Regions from separate parts of the Homo sapiens genome. Here regions 1 and 2 are each linked to region 3. The links are contacts of gene promoters, found by promoter capture Hi-C in human tissues and cell types (Jung and others, 2019). All regions are on one chromosome and are shown on one strand. The core of a region is centred on a gene start or on the middle of the fragment in contact, and the rest is flanking DNA. Distances in the headings are between cores, read along the strand shown.

Region 1 (2,700 bases), core at 84-2,583, 400 kb before region 3:
AAGACAGATCGCTCTGAGCCTCGATGTCTTCGTCCACAAAACAGGGGCAATGACAAGTACCCGGCAGGGCTGGGTGAGGATCAGATGGGCCTTCTGATACCCTAGAGGCACTGGGCAATGCGGTGCTGTGGCTCGCTAGGTCTTCGCCCCCATCCCGCCCCCTCCCAAAGCCCCAGCTCCAGGAGCCCCCCGCAACCCCAGGCGCTTGTCTCACCTGGCTCGGTACACAGGTAGGAGTAAAAGCCCTCTGACTTGAGCATGATGAGCAGCGAGCCCCAGCCCAGGAGGACTGCCGAGAAGAGGAGGTTCTCCAGCACGGCCGTGCAGGCCATCCACCAGCGGCGCCGATGGGCAGTGGCCAGGGTGGGCGCCATGGTGCGGCGCGGCGCGGCTCCGGCTCCGGCTCCGGCTCTGCACCACCTGCGCACAGAACTCGGCGTCAGCGGCCGGCCCTTGCCCAGCCCCTGCGGCCGCCCCCAGCAGCCCCGACCGCTGCCGCAGGGCTCGGGATTGCCACCCCTCCCCGGCCGCGGCGGCCGGTGCGCGCAGCAGAGGAAGCGAACCCCAGCCCTGCCCGGACCTGGGACACCCCGAGCCCGCGGCCGGCTCGTACCGCTGCCCTCCGCTACGACAGAGCCGCCCCGGCCAGGCAGGGAGACGTCTCCCGCAGCTCACTCCGAGGTAAACTGAGGCATGGAGGCAAGAAGGGGCTAACGCATGCTCAGGGCCGTGGAACTAGTCCTGGCCTGCAGCAGGACTGACATCGCCTGGGGCCAGCATGGAACGCAGCGTGAGGTGGGCAGGGGCAGATCCGAGGGCTGCCTCTCCCAGGGACCCTGACAGGTGCCCTCCCGCCCGCGCCCGAGACCCTTCCCCAGAGCTGGTTTCTTCAACCACAAGATCAGCGCCCAGACCTACGGAACGGCCCGCCCCGGCGCGCTCATTGGCCGGACGGCGCAGGAACTGCCGCGCCATTGGCCGCCGTCTAGGTCGCTAGGCGCTGCGGCCACGCGAACCCAGCGTGGGAGACGAGGAGCCGGTTCAAACCGGTGGCGCGAGCCAGCCGCGCGACCCCCATCTCGGGCGTTCCCCCGGCAACTCGCCCGTTTCCATGGCCTCGGACCCCCGCGCCTCCATTCCCCAGCCCGCATCTGTTCGTCATCTCTTCCCTGGCGGCCCCTCATCGCTCCATCTCTCTCCTCGTTCCCACGTTTTCTCCCTACGCCCCTTCGGCGGCCGCTTCTGCCCCCGCGCCCTCGCCCCGGCCGCGATCCCCTCCCTGCTGCAGCTCACCCGGCTCCTCCGGCGTGTGTCGGGCCCGCCCGGCGCCTTTTCTGCCCTCTTTTATTCCAGCCCTTTTATTCCGACCCCAAGAAGAAAACACTGCCGCCCGCTGATTGGCTGAGCGGGGCTGGAAACAGGCGTCGACCAATCAGCAGCCAGCCCCCCGCCCGCCCCGCCGCGAGCAGAAGCCGGTTCCGGCCGGACTCGGAGACAAACAAGAGAGATGGGGGACGGGAGGGGCCTGGGCGCTGCGGGCCGGGCCTCGGCTTTGCAGCCTTCAACCCGAGTCACAGCGCGGCCGGGAATCCCCGGCGACATCGCCCCGCGGCCTCTCCAGCGGCCTGACCCTGCGAGGCTGGGGCTCCGGCTCCGCGTCCCGGCCCCCAGCGGACTCCCCCCAGAAGCCGCCGGGCCACCAGCGCCCCCAGCCGGGCTCTCCCGCGGCCGCCCCGCCGTCCCCAGCTGCCCCCTGCGCGCGGGTCACCACGCCCAGATGCGCCGGCTCCGCACGGTGGTTCCACTCTCGAATCCCCACCCCGCCTCCTCCCCACGCAGCGCCGCCGTCCCCGCCGCCTCGGGCTTTGGGTCCTGGTTCCTCGCTCCCCCGCCCCGGTGGTTCCCGTCCCGGCGTATTCGGGGCCTGGGATCCCGGACCCGGTCCAGCCGTGGCGCCCCCCGCTGATGCACCGACCCCTTCCCCTCTCCCCGGTGGCGTCTGCCCGGTCCCTGGAAGTTGGCCCTTGGAAATCTGCAAGGGGATTTGGGGCTGGTCTGTCCCGTCCTAGGATGGGGTCTCCTGAGCTCCCCCCATCAGACTGACCTTTCTCCGCCCGTGTTCACGCACTGCTCGGTCCTCCGGGGACCCTCCACCCTTGATCGTCATCTGGGTGCTCCCTGCCCGCGCTGGCCACCTTCACCCCGTTCCCCGTCCCTTTCAGGGAAGGTCCCCTCTGCAGGGCGATGCTACGGGCCACGTCCGCCAGCTGGTACAAGCTAGGGAGGGTTCGAGGGGGCTCCGGGTCCCCGTCTGATAAGCCCGGGCTCCGAAAGCTCAGCTCCCCGTCTTCGTCCCCCGGATTCGAGGCACTAACCCGACCCGGGAAGACCCTCTGACTGCCCCAGAATCGCCTTGGTCACCCTGGCTCGCTCCGGGGGGCTGGCTTAGCACCCCAGGGCTGCCGCGCGGTGTCCACGTCTGGAATCCCAGCGGTTTGGGAGGCTAAGGTCGGAGGGCCACTTGGGGACAGGAGTTTGAGACCAGCCTGGGCAGCATGGCGAGAACCATCTCTACCAAAATAAAAACCAAAAATAAAACCCCACCACCACCCCAGGGCTGTGGGAGCCCCAAACGCCTCTTGCTCCACCTGCCCCAGTCCGAGTGTGCCCCCTACTGTCTAGAATCCGCCCGGGCCACCT
Region 2 (2,700 bases), core at 106-2,605, 450 kb before region 3:
GCCCTCGGAGGTGGGGCGGGGACAGGAACTGTGTTCTTTTTTTTTTTTTTTTTTTTTTTTTGAGACGAAGTCTCGCGCTGTCGTCATTCAGGCTGGAGTGCAGTGGCGCAATCTCAGCTCACTGCAATCTCCGCCTCCCGGGTTCAAGTGATTCTCCTGTCTCAGCCTCCCGAGTATCTGGGATTACAGGCACCTGCCACCACACCTGGCTAATTTTTGTATTTTTAGTAGAGACCTGGTTTCACCATGTTGGCCAGGCTGGTCTTGAACTCCTGACCTCAAGTGATGCTCCCGCCTCGGCCTCTCAAAGTGCTGGGATTACAGGTGTGAGCCACCGCGCCCGGCCCAGGAACTCTGTTCTATTTCTCCCCAAATCAGGTCCAGAGAGGACATGTTCCTTTTCCTGCCTAGCCACCATTCACAAAGGGACTCTTAACCAATCCTAACCAACGCTCCCACATGTCCTCGGGGCCCTGAAGCCCCCGAGGGGGACCTTGCAGCTCGCAGTTAGCAGAAGGGGGCAGGCGCCCATGACCCACCATCCCCCGACCCCTCTTACCCACAGAGGGTCTCCCTGGAGAGGACCCATCATGGCCAGAAACAGCGGCTGCTGCAGAAGGGCGAAGAGCGCGCTGATCAGAGACTGCAGTCCCGTGAGGCTGCCGAACTGGGTGGAGGGGTACCTGCAGGGCAAGCGACAGCTCACAGCCATCCTGCCTCCTGGGCTTTGCTTGGCCCCAGGTGTCTGGTGACCCCGGGCTGCACCGTTGGTGCCAGAGAAGGGTGGGGTGCCAGCCCTCGGATTCCTTCCTGCTGGGCAGTTCTGTTTTTTTTTTTTTTTTTTTAAGATGGAGTCTTGCACTGTCGCCTGGGCTGGAGTGCAATGACACGATCTCGGCTCACTGCAACCTCCGCCTCCCCAGTCCAAACAATTCTCCTGCCTCAGCCTCCCTAGTAGCTGGGATTACAGGCGCCCGCCACCACATCTGGCTAATTTTTTGTATTTTTAGTAGAGACGGGGTTTCACTACGTTGGCCAGGCTGGTCTCAAACTCCTGACCTTGTGATCTGCCTGCCTCGGCCTCCCAAAGTTCTGGGATTACAGGCGTGAGCCACCGCGCCCGGCCCTGCTGGGTGGTTCTGCAAAGTGTTTCTCTTTGGACCAGCTCCAGGCCCCAGACTCTGGGGAGGGCCCACCCCACTCAGCTGTGCCCAGGGCCTGTGGGTGTCTGGCTGAGCCGAGTGGAAAGCGTGGTGCCAGCGGGGACCTGCGGTTTGGGAAACAGGCCCAGAGAGGAGTGTGGAGGCTGGGCTTGGCTCTGCAGTGCCCTCGTCCAGAGAAGCATTGAGTAATCGCGGAAACTCAGCACCACAGATCCCGCCCCCCTCCCTCAGACCCTGCCAGGACAGCCACAGCTTCCTCCAGGCCTGGGGAGGGGCAGGCGGAGGGCAAGCGGAGCTGGGATTACCCCAGGGGCTGTTGCGGGAATTGGGAGAGAGTTCCGGGCTAAATCTTAGCACATGTCAGGCTCTGCTGGCCCAGAGGTGGGAAAGGAATCCCAGCAACACATGAGCTGGTCCCACATCAGAGACTGTGGATGATGATGTTTGAGTTTCAGTTTTTGGGTCAAGGCCTGAGCCAGAGAAGAAGGAACCACTGTGGTTCCTTTTATGTTTCTGGGGCTTCTTGGAAAAAGATACAGGTTTCATTTTAGCCAGGGCTGGAGAAAGCTATGGCCAGAGCTGGGCGCACTGAGGCTCTGGATGGGCCCGTCTGGTGTATTCTGGACTCAGTCACCCATGTTGCTGCCCGTGATGAGGGCAACTGGAACTTCCGCATTTAGCTTCAGGCAGCCAGAACCTACCCATCCTTCCCAGTGAGCAGCCAGGGCCAGCCCCAGGACTCGGCTGTAGTGGCCCCTGAGGCCATAATGAGCTGCACAGGTGCCTGACCCTGGCTGGGGGAACTGACTTCGTGTTGAATGCCAAGGCTTGTGAGCACCCAACTGTCTGCCCACTGACCTGCTTCCCACGAGGTATGGCCTTTCCCTGAAACACCCAGCAGAAACCCTGGTACCTGTCCCCTGAAGCAGGAAGATGAGCCCTTCTGGGACAGGCTGACCCTGCCTCAGAGTCTCAGTCCCACCAGCAACCTCCCCCCGGCCATTCCCACACCCTCGCCCACCAGGCCACCTGCGGCTTCCAGGACTTACACGGCAGCGTACAGGCCCCCGACAGCGGAGTGGATGAATCCTCGCACGATTGTGTGCAGGATGAAGGAGAGGATCTGGGGGAGGAAAAGGCGACTGTGGGCATAAGGCCTTAAGGGACCGTCCCCTCAGCCCCCGCCCTCCAATTCCTGGGGGCCCTCACCCCAGGGGCAGTGTCAGCCTGGAGTTGGATCAACCCCATCCTCCGGAGCCAATTGTGAATTTTCAGAAATTTTGCAAGCCAGTCGTTAACACAGTCATTTTTTGTTTGTTTGTTTGTTTTGTTTTTTGTTTTGTTTGAGAAGAAGTCTTGCTTTGTCGCCCAGGCTGGAGTGCAGTGGCGTGATCTTGGCTCACTGCAAGCTTCGCCTCCTGGATTCAAGCAATTCTCCTGCCTCAGCCTTCGGAGTAGCTAGGATTACAGGCCCACGCCACCATGCCCGGCTAATTTTTGTATTTTTTAAGCAGAGATGGGGTTTCACCATGTTGGC
Region 3 (2,700 bases), core at 34-2,533:
TTACTTCTCCCTGCACCTTAATTAGGGGTTTCCAAGCAGGGAGGGCCTCTGGGGGAGCCCGAGGACACAGAGCTGACTTAAAGGGCCAGCTGTGATCACAGCACCACCGCAGAGAGAGGAGGAGGATGCCAGGGGGCTGGGTAGACCGTCAGACCTGGAAGACCATTGTTCCACGGGACAGACTGCTGAGGGCCAGTCCTGCAGGTACTTTGCTCTTCCACAGGTCAAAGCCGTCTCACTGGCTGTCTTCTCTTTGGGGTCTCTGGGGCTCTGGCCAGTGATCAGGAGAAAGACCAGCCCTGAGGGGCAGGGCAAAGGTTGGCCAGGGTCCAGAAGGGTTAGACATCACAGTCCTCCACTGCCCACCTTCCCAGGAAAGCACCCTCAGGCTGTGGGCCTTCCCCAGAGGGGCAGTTTCTACAGGGTCTACGCAGTGGATTCTAAAGGTGATAAAGGCTGGGTGCAGTGGCTCGCGCCTGTAATCCCAGCACTTTGGGAGGCCAAAGTGGGAGGATTGCTTGAGTCCAGAGGTTCAAGACCAGCCTGAGCAAAATAGTGAAACCTTATCTCTACTAAAAAAAAAAAAAAAAAAAAAAAAAAAAATTAGCTGAACGTACGCCTGTGGTCCCGGGTACTCAGGGGGCTGAGGCAGGAAGATGAATTGAGCCCAGAAGGTTGAGACTGCTGTGAACCATGATCGCACCACTGCACTCCAGCCTGGGCGACAGACCAAGACCCTGTCTCAAAAAAAATAATTTAAAAAGCTGATAAGGGCGATCCACAAACCTGCACCAAGACTCTCAACTTGGAGCTGGGCTGGTGGTCCCTGAGTTCTGTCCTGCCGGACAGTAGAGTCCCCCTAGGTAGGGAACGTGGCCCCACACGGCGGCCGGGTGACCGACCACTGCTTACCAGGAGGGGAGACTGGCAGGGGGGGCTCAAGGAACATCTGGTGGGTGTCCCCTTCACAAGACTCGGCCTGCAGAGTTCGTGCAGGGAGTTCGCACATAGGAGAGCACCGGTCCGGGAGTGCCAGGCTCGTGCCCGGCCGGGGAGAGGAGTGGGAGACTAAGTCGCAGGGCAAGGGCAACTGCATAGTCGGGGACCTCTAGGGAATCCTGAGTCCCGGCATTCTGGGCTGGGGTGGAGCCCACTACAGCCCCGCCCCTATCTCCTCCTTTATGGCCCCGCCCAGCGGGTATCCCCCGCCCCCGCTGGCCGATCGGCGATCGATCGCAATGTCTGCGCTCTCCGCGTTCTTCCAGCGCTGTCTTTTTAGTACCACATGCGCAGGCAGGTGATGGCGGCGCTGGTCGTATCCGGGGCAGCGGAGCAGGGCGGCCGAGACGGCCCTGGCAGAGGTGGGTGCTGGAACGCTGCGCCCTCCAGACCTCGCATCTCGGGGCGGGGCCCCCAAGTTAGGGACAGGACCAACCCCCTTTAACGGCGGCGGCGCCTTTCTCCGCTAGATCCCGCTGTTAGTCGCCTTGGGCCGCTGTCACCAGCTCGGGGTCGCTGTCAGCCGGAGCCCAGGGGTACCAGTCTTTTGCAGCTTTAGGGCACGACCGAGAGCAGCCCTTAATCCTCCAATCGGAAACTACAGCCTTGTCTTGGCGGGTAGACGGATAAAATGGACTCGACGGGGAGGGAAAGGGCCAGGCCAGATGCAGCGGGCATTTTACGAGTGCGCCCTCAGGGAATGCTTTCAGGGAAGAGGCAAAAGGTTTCATTCGCCAGGCATTAACTGAGCGCCCACCGAATGCCAGGCCTGCGCTGGGTGCAGGTACTAGAATCAGAGATCTCAGTCTACTGGGGGAATGTTAATGTAAACATATCATAGCCACGTGATAAAGGAGGAGGTGCCTACTGGTCCCTGGGACACATTGAAGGGCTAATGTTAGCAGTTCCTTACACGCCAGCGACCACTAGGGACCTGTCAGAGGAGGATCTGTAATGGGCCTAGGAAGCCTAGGCTGATTGTCCAAGGCTTTTGAAACAACTGGCCAAAAACCATAGCAGTGGTAACGTTCAAATCTGATCTCAGGGCCCCAGCCTCCGCTGGACCATCCCCACCGCCGCCCACACAGTGGGTGAAGCCTCATGTCTGGGCGGGTCCCTCCTATCATAGTGTGGGGCCCTAGCAGAAGTTGTGGCACATAGCACAGTCTCAATACATATTCGTTGAATAAGTTAATTTCTTGCCTTTTCATATCCTCAGACTCTGTGGCTCCTGAAGAGATAACGGGGTTGAACTAAGCTTAATTGTCGGGGCAGGGCATAGTGGCTTACACCTTTAGTCTGAGCACTTTGGGAGGCTAAGGAGGATTGTGTGAGCCCAGGAATTCCACACCAGTCTGGGAAACATAGGGGGACCCTGTATGCACAAAAAAATAAAAAATAGCCGTGCGTGGCCGGGCACGGTGGCTTACACCTGTAATCCCAGCACTCTGGGAGGCTGAGGCGGGCGGATTACCTGAGGTCAGGAGTTTGAGACCAGCCTGGCCAACATGGTGGAAACCCTGTCTCTACTAAAAATACAAAAATTAGCCGCGTGTGGTAGCACACGCCTGTAATCCCAGCTACTCGGGAGGCTGAGGCAGGAGAATTGCTTGAGTCCGAGAGGCTGAGGTTGCAGTGAGCCGAGATTGCACCACTGCACTCCAGCCTGGCCAACAGACAGAGTGAGACTCTGTCTCAAAA

Evidence for each region. The method cuts DNA at HindIII sites, captures the fragments that hold promoters and counts their contacts. A contact is called where the count stands out against the background at its distance.
Region 1: a contact is called between the fragment with the promoter of SLC43A2 here and the fragment with the promoter of DPH1 in region 3, in 1 of the 25 tissues and cell types used here (bladder).
Region 2: a contact is called between a fragment that was not itself captured here and the fragment with the promoter of DPH1 in region 3, in 1 of the 25 tissues and cell types used here (dorsolateral prefrontal cortex).

What each region holds. Positions count from the first base shown.
Region 1 is chr17:1,627,501-1,630,200 of GRCh38, forward strand. It overlaps SLC43A2 (solute carrier family 43 member 2), which reads right to left and starts at 1,334. Exons shown (of 14, transcript NM_152346.3): 1 at 1,294-1,334; 2 at 215-420. The coding sequence starts at 374. RefSeq lists enhancers at 1-44, 45-582. The HindIII fragment of the contact is 9,222 bases long and covers 1-2,700 here.
Region 2 is chr17:1,576,038-1,578,737 of GRCh38, forward strand. SLC43A2 (solute carrier family 43 member 2) reads right to left here. Exons shown (of 14, transcript NM_152346.3): 12 at 2,213-2,286; 13 at 560-683. Among named protein-coding and RNA genes, the nearest start is that of PITPNA, 15 kb to the left of the region's middle. RefSeq lists enhancers at 1-291, 292-1,103, 1,104-1,915, 1,916-2,700. The HindIII fragment of the contact is 6,207 bases long and covers 1-2,700 here.
Region 3 is chr17:2,028,870-2,031,569 of GRCh38, forward strand. It overlaps DPH1 (diphthamide biosynthesis 1), which reads left to right and starts at 1,284. Exons shown (of 13, transcript NM_001383.6): 1 at 1,284-1,361. The coding sequence starts at 1,301. RefSeq lists enhancers at 1,032-1,623, 1,624-2,215. The HindIII fragment of the contact is 15,169 bases long and covers 1-2,700 here.